Regions from separate parts of the Homo sapiens genome. Here region 1 is linked to region 2. Evidence: promoter capture Hi-C in human tissues and cell types (Jung and others, 2019). All regions are on one chromosome and are shown on one strand. The core of a region is centred on a gene start or on the middle of the fragment in contact, and the rest is flanking DNA. Distances in the headings are between cores, read along the strand shown. Region 1 has its middle 14 kb from the start of MIR378F. Region 2 holds the start of GRHL3 (grainyhead like transcription factor 3).

Region 1 (4,826 bases), core at 2,141-4,640, 370 kb before region 2:
GCCTATTTTTTATTTATTTATTTTTTTTGAGATGGAGTCTTGCTCTGTTGCCCAGGCTGGAGTGCAATGGCGCGATCTTGGCTCACTGCAACCTCTGCCTCCTGGGTTCAAGCGATTCTCCTGCCTCAGCCTCCCGAGTAGCTGGGATTACAGGCGCTTGCCACCACGCCTGGCTAATTTTTACACCTGGCTAATTTTTGTATTTTTAGTAGAGATGGAGTTTCACCATGTTGGCCAGGCTGGTCTTGAACTCCTGACCTCAGGTGATCCACCCGCCTTGGCTTCCCAAAGGGTTGGGATTACAGGCATGAACCACCGTGCCTGGCGGAGTCTTAATTTCTTAGTCACCTATGTCACATAAAATTTGTATTAAATAGATTTATTATGCTTCTCTGTTGTTCTATGTTCTCTCTTTTCTTTCTTTTTTTTTTTTTTTTTTTTTTTTATTAGACAGAGTCTTACTCTGTCGCCCAGGCCTGACTACAGTGATGCAATCTTGGCTCACTGCAACCTCTGCCGCCCAGGTTCAAGCGATTCTCCTGTCTCAGCTTCCTGAGTAGCTGGGATTACAGGTGCCTTCCACCGCACCCGGCTAATTTTTGTATTTTCAGTAGAGACGGGGTTTCACCATCTTGGCCAGGCTGATCTTGAACTCTTGACCTCATGATCCACCCGTCTTGGCCTCCCAAAGTGCTGGGATTACAGGCGTGAGCCACCGTGCCTGGCCTATCTGTTCTTTCTTATGGGCTCTCAGCCGTGAATCCTGCGATGCGTAAGGGAAAGATCATCTTCTCTCCCTTACAGATGCCTAATTAATTACGTGAGGCCATGCCTTTTTTATACATGCATTTTTTCAACAGACACAGAGAAGTTTGAATAGGCTGCATCCTGTCAGTCAAGGGAATAGTTTGGCAAACAGGCAGCCATAATGGGATTTCCTACCGGGTTTCCAGGAAGGAAAGTCCCTGTGTATAGAGCCTGTAACTCTTATGCGTCCAGATCCTTGAAAAGGAAGGAAGAAGGGAGGGCTTGAAGTGTCAACTTTGCCAGGGTCTTACCAGATAAGGGCTGCCAAAAGGAGAACCCTGAGCCACAGTATTTGGTGGCAATTGTGGTCCTTGTATGTGGTCAATGCCTGCTCCAGGATCCTTCTAGTGGAGATAGCTGTCACAGAACTATTAGATACCATAGTTGATCTACATTTCATTATATTAGATTTTAAGGACATACAAGCAAATATATTACCCCTGAGATCAGGCAAGAGAGGCCCTTGCTCTGGGCTCCACAACCCCTTGCTCTGGGGTTAGAGAACCCCATGTCACAAGCATACATCAAATTAATTTATTAAATAAGATAAAAGTGAAATATTAGTCAGGGCACGGTGGCTAACGCCTGTAATCCCAGCACTTTGGGAGGCCGAGGCGGGCGGATCACCTCAGGTTGGGAGTTCAAGACCACCCTGACCAACATGGAGAAACCCTGCCTCTACTAAAAATACAAAATTAGCCGGGCATGGTGGTGCATGCCTGTAATCCCAGCTACTTGGGAGGCTAAGGCAGGAGAATCGCTTGAACCTGGGAGGCAGAGGTTGTGGTGAGACGAGATTGAGCCATTGCACTCTAGCATGGGCAAAAAGAGTGAAACTCCATCTCAAAAAAAAAAAAAAAAGAAAAGGAAATATTAGAATCAAATTACAAACAATAACTGTTAATGACACAGACAATTATCATTCTATCTTGAAATAAATGAACACAAGAATGAAAGTTCCTAGTCTAGCTGGGTGCGGTGGCTCACACCTGTAAATCCCAGCACTTTGGGAGGCCAAGGCGGGCAGATCACCTGAGGTCAGGAGTTCAAGATCAGCCTGGTCAACATGGTGAAAACCCGTCTCCACTAAAAATAAAAAAAAATAAAATAAATAAAAAATTAGCTGGGCTTGGTGGCTCACGCCCGTAATTCCAGCTACTCAGGAGGCTGAGGCAGAAGAATCGCTTGAACCCTGAAGGCGGAGGTTGCAGTGAGCCAAGATCATGTCACTGCACTCCAGCCTGGGTGACAGAGTGAGACTCTGTCTGGAAAAAAGAAAAAAATAAAGAAAGAAACTTGCAAGTCTAAATAAACTGAAATCTTCCAGCCACGGGTTCATAGGGGTCAAAGGACTGTGTGGCTACACGGGTTACTGCACATGACAAGAACATATGGGCATGTCTGCTACTCAGTGCTGGCACCACACAACCTGTAACGCTTGACAGCCATTCTTAGGACTAACACTGTTCACACCCCAGGGAAATGCTTCTGCACATCTTTTGCTCCATGACCTCGAAACAAAAGGCAACTGCATCCAAATGACATAAAAGGTTGGGGTTAATTTAGTTGTGAATGTAAATTTGTCAAGGTAGAAAGATAGAACATCTTTTATTATTTTAAATATTAGCTTTCTTATTTAAATATTTAGACAAATGACTATGTTGAAACAAAATCCATGGTATAAAGAAATACCTTTATTTTACTTTTTTTACTTCTTCTTTTTTTTTTTTTAGACAGGGTCTTGCTCTGTTGCTCAGGCTGAAGTGCAGTGGCACCATCAGAGCTCACGGCAGCCTCAACCTCCCAGGCTCAAGTGAATTTCCCATCTCAGCCTCCTGAGTAGCTAGGACTATAGGTGTGCACCACCATGCTTGGCTAAATTTTTTTTTTTTTAGACGGAGTTTTGTTCTTGTGGCCCAGGCTGGAGTGCAATAGTGTGACCTCGGCTCATGGCAACCTCTACCTCCTGGGTTCAAGTGATTCTCCTGCCTCAGCCTCCTGAGTAGCTGAGATTACAGGCATGAGCCACCATGCCTGGCTAATTTTGTATTTTTAGTAGAGATTGGGTTTCTCCACGTCGGTCAGGCTGGTCTCGAACTCCCGACCTTAGGTGATCTACCCCCCCACCCTCGGCCTCACAAAGTGCTGGGATTGCAGGTGTGAGCCACTGAGCCCGGCCGCCTGGCTAATTTTTTATTTTTTGTAAAGACAGGGTTTGACTATGTTGCCCAGGCTGGTCTTGAACTCCTGGACTCAAGCAATCCTCTTGCCTCAGGCTCCCAATGTTCTGGGATTACAAGTGTGAGCCACCACTCTCGGCCTACTTCTTCTTCTTCCTCATTTGTAAATACACATAACGTAAAATTTACCAACTTAACCATTTATAAATGTACAGTTTAATGAAATTAAGTACATTCGTATTCTTGTGCAACCATCATCACCATCCATCTCCAGGACTCTTTTTATCCTGCAAAACTGAAATTCTGTACCCATTAAATAATAACTCCTCATTTCCTCTCCTCTCAGCCCCTGCAACCACTGAAGTTCTACTTTCTGTCTCTTTAAATTTGACTACTCAAGAAACCTCATGTAAGTGGAATCATACAGTATTTGTCATTTGTAATTGGCTTATTTCACTTAGCATAATGTCCTTAAGGTTCATTTATGTTGTATCATGTGTCAAGATTTCCTAACTTTTTAAGACTGAATAATACTCCATTGTAAGTATATTATACATTTTGCTTATCCATTCATCCATGGATGGACACTTGGGTTGCTTCCATGCTTTAGCTATTGTGAATAATGCTTTGAACATGGGTATGCAATTATCTGAGACCCTGTTTTCCGATTCCATACCCAGAAGTGGAATCGCTAGCTCATATGGTAATTCTGTTTTTAAGTTTTTGAGGAACTGCCATACTATTTTCCACAGCAATCGTACCAATTTACATCCCCACCAATACTGCACAGAAATTGCAATTTTTCCACATCCTTGCCGATACTTGTTATTTTCTGTTTTTTGTTTTGGATAGTAGCATCCTAATGGGTGTTGGGTGGTACCTCATTGTGGTTTTGATTTACATTTCCCTCATGATTAGTGTTATTGAGCATCTTTTCATGTGCTTATTGGCATTTGTATATCTTCTTTGGATAAACGTCCATTCAAGCCCTTTGCACTTTTCTTTATTTTTTTTAAAGAGACAGAGTCTTGCTTTTTCACCCTGGCTGGAGTGCAGCGCAATGATAATAGCTCACCGCAACCTTGAACTCCTGGGCTCAAGCGATCCTCCCATGTCAGCCTCTCAAGTAGTTGGGAATACAGGCATGCATACCACATCTAGCTAACTTTTAATTTTTTTATAGAGATGGGGTTCTCACTGCGTTGCCAGGGCTGGTCTTGAACTCCTAGGTTTAAGTGATCCTTCTATCTCAGCCTCCCAAAGTGCTGGGATTACAGGCATAAGCCACTACACCCAGCTCTTTGCCCATTTTTGAATTAGTTTATTTCTTTTGTTGAGTTTTAGGAGCTATTTATAAATTCTGGATATTACTCCCTTATCAGATATATGATTTGCAAATGTTTTCTCTCATTCCATAATTTTCCTCTTCCCTCTGTTTGATAATGTCCTTTTTTTTTTTGAGACAAAGTCTCACTCAGTTGCCCAAGCTGGAGTGCAGTGGTGTGATCTTGGCTCACTACAACCTCTGCCTCCCGGATTCAAGCGATTCTCCTGCCTCAGCCTCCCAAGTATCTGGGACTACAGGTTTGTGCCACAATGCCCGGCCAATTTTTGTATTTTTAGTAGAGATGCGGTTTCATTATGTTGGCAAGGCTGGTCTCGGACTCCTGACCTCATGATCCGTCTGCCTTGTTCTCCCAAAGTGCGGGATTACAGGCGTGAGCCACTTTGCCCGGCTGATAGTGTTCTTTGATGCACAAAAGTTTTTGATTTTCATGTAGTCCCATTTGTCCATTTTTTCTTTTGTTACCTGTGCCTTTGGTGCTATAATCCAAGAAA
Region 2 (4,645 bases), core at 1,909-4,408:
CCCAAAGTGCTGGTATTATTGGCATGAGCCACCGCACCCAGCTAACTTTTGACTTCCAACAAATCATTTAACCTCCGAGTCTGTTTCTTCACTTGTGAAATAAGGTTAATATCTTCCTCATTAGATTTAAATGAGAATTAAGGGGGGAAAAAAAGGCTTTTCTAACAAGTATTGAGTGCTAGATGCCAGGTACAGATAATGCACTTCACACGCATTATCTTTTAATCCTCACAATAACCCCATAAGGGAGGAATACAATTTTTATATACACTTTACAGGTGAGGAAACTGAGGCTCAAAGAGCTGTAGCCACTTGCCCGACATCATGTAGCTAGTTGGGCTGAGATTTGAAAGGAGGCCTGTGAGTCTCAGAACAATACTATCCTAACACATAGGTAAGTCTTAGCACAGTGCTTGCAAAATACAAACGCTAACTAAACAGCAGCCCTCATTATTTACTGTCATTATTGTGGATATAATTATTATGTTACAAGTAATTGGCTGGTCTCTGTTTATGTTTTTTTAAACTTTGTTTTTTTTTTTTTTTTTTGGAATAGCTGTTCTGTTTTAAATCTCCTCTGCAGAGGAACCAAGAGCTGTGCTGATCCATGAAGGGGAAGTAGGTGCCAGCCTTGCTCAGCCCCACAGGAGCAGGAAGGGGGCAGCAGCAAAGCACGGGGAGTGTCTCTTTAAAGGCCTGGCATCTCTGGGTTGTTGGGATGAAGGCCTAGAAAGCACTTGTACCTCCTGCCTGGGAGGTATAATTCCTACTGAGGGGCCTGGTGACCTTGCAAACTGGCTCATGGCGTTCCTGCCTACCTAGCCCAGACCACCGGTCCTTCTATCCCATCCGGGACACTTCTGTAGCCTTCCTGTGTGTGGAGACGTAGAAACCCTCTGCCCTGTGATTTGGGTCTCTGCTGATCTCTGAAGATGGGTGCGGGTGATGAAAGAGGCAAAACCTAGAGGCAGAGGGAGAGGACCCATTTTTAAAACCCCAGCGAGCACAGACACGCCACCTGGAATCCCAGCCTCCCCTGAGCCCAGTCAGCATGAGTCACCCCACAGCCCTTCACCTGTGGGTTGCAACACGGTTGACAGAAACTCCACAGCCTTCCATGAGGTGGGCAGACAGGTACATACAGAGGAGTGTGCCATCCTTTGGACTGCAATAAGCTTTGCAGTTACAGTTGGCACCAAATAGCCCTTCAGCCACCAATAAGCTCTGTGAAGTGGTTGGGCACCCAGGCTCTGCTCTCGGATTAAATCCCAGCTCTAGCTCTACCACTGCCTAGCTCTGCAGCTTGAGTAGTTTACTTCAGTATTCTGTACCTCAGTTTCCTCATCTATAAAATGGGGGTATCAAAAATGTCTATCTCCCAGGGTTGCTGTAAGGATTAGGCGACACAATGTATGCAAAGGCGCACAATGCCCGGTGCCTGTGGTATATGAAGCACCTACTAGGTGCCAGACACTGGAGATTCCACAGTGAGCGACACAAAGTCTTTGCTCTTATGGAATTTACATTCCAGAGGAAGGGGAGAAAGACAATAAACGATTAGAAAAATATCATAGGTCATATTACATTGTATCATAAGTCATAAGGGCTCTGCAGAGAACAAAAAGTAGTGTGATCCAGAGTGATTGAATGTCTACTTTATTAACAAGGGTGACTGAAGAGGGCTGCTCTGAGGAGGTGGCTTTATTAGCAATTATTTACTATTATTTATTAGGGTCCCCTGGGCTTCCCCCAACACAGCCTCCAGGGAGAAACCAATCTCTGAGAGTTCTCAAACCCAGTACCCCCTCTCCAGAGCCCTGACCCCACCCCAAGAGGGCTCCTTTGAATTCTGACTTTACCCTGAAAAACCTCCATAAATTGGCAGGGGTAGCTGAAACCTCACTTGCCGTTCCCAGAGAAGAGAGAGAGGAGTGGGCCAAGTTGAGGTTTCCAGGAAGACACAGCAAAGAGATAATTTGCCAAAAGGGGAAGGGTGGGGGAGGGGAGAATAGAAAGAGAGAGAGGGAAAAAAAGATGCCAAGATCTCTGGCTTAGATTTAATTTCAAACTAATCCTGGAAGAAGCTCTTTAAAAAGCTCTTACATTCTCCTGTTTGTGTTTGTGGATATTCTGGGGTTTACCAAGCTTGTTCTTTATAGTAGACAGCTCACAGCAATTACTCCACAATTACTTCATCTGACAGGCATTGAATTTCTCCCAAGTTCCCAATACAGAACGAAGCACTTGGAGCCTGTGAAATGACCAGCTGGCTGAGGCTTCAGAGGAGCCTTCAACTTTTCTATCCCTTCTGTGCTGACCAGAGGTATGTGGCTTGCCCACACCCCCTTCACACCCAATAAAAGCCTGTTCTCCTTTACTCCCCCACCCCCTGCCACCAACACACACCCCCCAGATTGTAAACTCCTTTAGAACAGTAACCCCTGTTTTTTCTGGCCTCAGTTTCTCCAGAACCCAGAGTAGGGTCTGGCACACAACGGGTGCTCAATGAATGTCTACTGAATTGAGGCCACTGACTTCAGCCCAAGGGGCAGCCAGACTTGGAGTGAGATGACTGCAGATTGGATCTGGGCTGGGACCTCGCTAGCTGTGCCCTTGGGCAAGGCACTTTGCCTCTCTGGCCTCCATTTCCTCCCTCATCTGTAAAATATGTGTTGAAGAGGAAGGGGGAAGCGATAATAAATCTACCACGGTAGGTTACTTTAAGAACCAAAAGAAGTCACTTGAGTAACTGCAAAAGATTATTCAAAAATATTACCTTAAAGGGGAAACTGAAAAAAAGGGAACTTATACAAAGATCTACCTGGGAAAAGTTGCTCTCTCCTTTGAGAATTCCCCAGTGGTACAGAAGGAGGGGGCAAAGAAATTTGGGGGTGGGGATGTTTCTGGGTATCTGGGACAATGACTAGAAACAGGAATCAAGTTTTCCTTTAAGCCAAGTTATCTGTTTGTCCCTGTACTTTTCCTCTAGTTATCTTGCTTCTTTCCAACATTTTCTTCTCCATCCCTCCTCCCTCATCTCCACCCCCCACCCCCTCACCAAGGAAGGAATTGGCCAGCTCCACCCAGCCAGTCCCCCATAGCTCCGCCCTCCTCGGCGGGCTAAGAGTTAACAGCTGCACCTGTTGAGGTATACCTCCAGTCGCCGGCACCTGTACCTGTAGCCAATCAGCGCCAGCGCTGCTGGGAACCTACCTGTCAGCAAAATCTCGACACCCAAACCTCAACATAAATCAAACACTTTCCCGGGCAGAGAATGTCTGTGTCAGGCAAGAATTAGAGACAAGCGGTCAGCAGAGCCTCAGTGCTGATCGTCGGAGCTTGGGAGCAGGAAGATGTCGAATGAACTTGAGTGAGTAAACATCGGTGGATACCTGCCGCTCTCAGAGCGTGGAGGCTGGATGGGGTTTCCTGGAGGGGGAAGAGCGGGGAGGCCGGCACCGGGATTCACAGAGCAATTTGTAAGGGTAAATGAATGGGCTGACGATCTTACTTTGGCGTGTCAAGGCAAGCCCCAGTCTCAAGCTAGAGGTGAGTGTTTCCCTGGGAAAATAGTTTTTCTCATTCTCTTTGCTGAGCAGTTTCGAGCCAGGCAGGGAAACACAAGACTGAAACTGTGAAGGTTTCTGGCACCACTTTTTGATCCTCTGAAGGGGCCTTGGAAATCAGACGACCCCAATCCCATCGAGGCTTTCTATCTTCTTGCCAAAAGGAACTTCTTTAAGGTAGTTCTAAGAGCTGTCTTAGGCAGAGAGTTGGGTTTCTCTAAAGGGACTTGTTTGCTGGGTTGGAACAGTCCCAAGTGGGAAGGTTACAGTGTGGTGGTTAAGCATGTGTACTCTTTGTAGTGGGCTTGACCTAAGTTCAAATCCAGGCTCTGTCCCTGGGTGATCTCAGACAAGACATTCAATTTTTCTGGGCTTCATTTTCCTCATCTGGAAAATGGGTACAAGAATGCTTTGTAGAATTCTGGAAAGAGTTAAGTGTGATAAATGCTGTAAAATGCTTAGCATAAAGCTATGGTCTGAAGATGCGTTCAGTAAAATGTGGTTCCTCTCATTCAGAGGCAGTTCTAAGGCTGGGGAAGATGAGAAGTGATTTTTGGTAGGTCACCTCTTTTGGCTGGGAGGATGCATGTGCCTTCCTGCCCACATCTGAGATTTAAGATCCTGACTGACTGATGCTGATCTTCACCATGATGTCCTTCTTGGGGTCCAGACCTTAGAGAAGGTAGGGTGAGGCTGGGATCTGGGCTGCTTTAGATTGGGTTCAGGGAGCTGGCAGGAGAAGCCAGAATCCTTTAAACACAGGCTCTCCTTTTCCTGCCACCCTCAGAGGTGAGTGGGCAGAGGCAAGGATTGTACCATCTTTTTTCTAACTGCTCCTCAACAGACTTTTAAGAACTTGAAGATCTGTGGGCAGACAGCAGTGCTAGGTCCTGACTGCAGACCGGATTCTATGTTCTAGCTAGCCCTTCAGCTCTTCATGTTCACAGCACAATCACTTGGGTTAACAGGCACATTTCTTTTGAATGAATTTCCCGGGGTTGACAATGTATTGACAATTGGACCGCAATGAGAATAAGAGCAGGAGCATTGGTACTGACACCTGGGTTCAAGTCCCAGCT

Evidence for each region. The method cuts DNA at HindIII sites, captures the fragments that hold promoters and counts their contacts. A contact is called where the count stands out against the background at its distance.
Region 1: a contact is called between a fragment that was not itself captured here and the fragment with the promoter of GRHL3 in region 2, in 1 of the 25 tissues and cell types used here (mesenchymal stem cells).

The regions. Positions count from the first base shown.
Region 1 is chr1:23,941,017-23,945,842 of GRCh38, forward strand. No RefSeq gene overlaps it. Among named protein-coding and RNA genes, the nearest start is that of MIR378F, 14 kb to the left of the region's middle. The HindIII fragment of the contact is 8,780 bases long and covers 1-4,826 here.
Region 2 is chr1:24,316,199-24,320,843 of GRCh38, forward strand. It overlaps GRHL3 (grainyhead like transcription factor 3), which reads left to right and starts at 3,159. Exons shown (of 16, transcript NM_198173.3): 1 at 3,159-3,370. The coding sequence starts at 3,354. All of the region lies in intron 1 of GRHL3-AS1 (GRHL3 antisense RNA 1), which reads right to left. The HindIII fragment of the contact is 14,571 bases long and covers 1,661-4,645 here.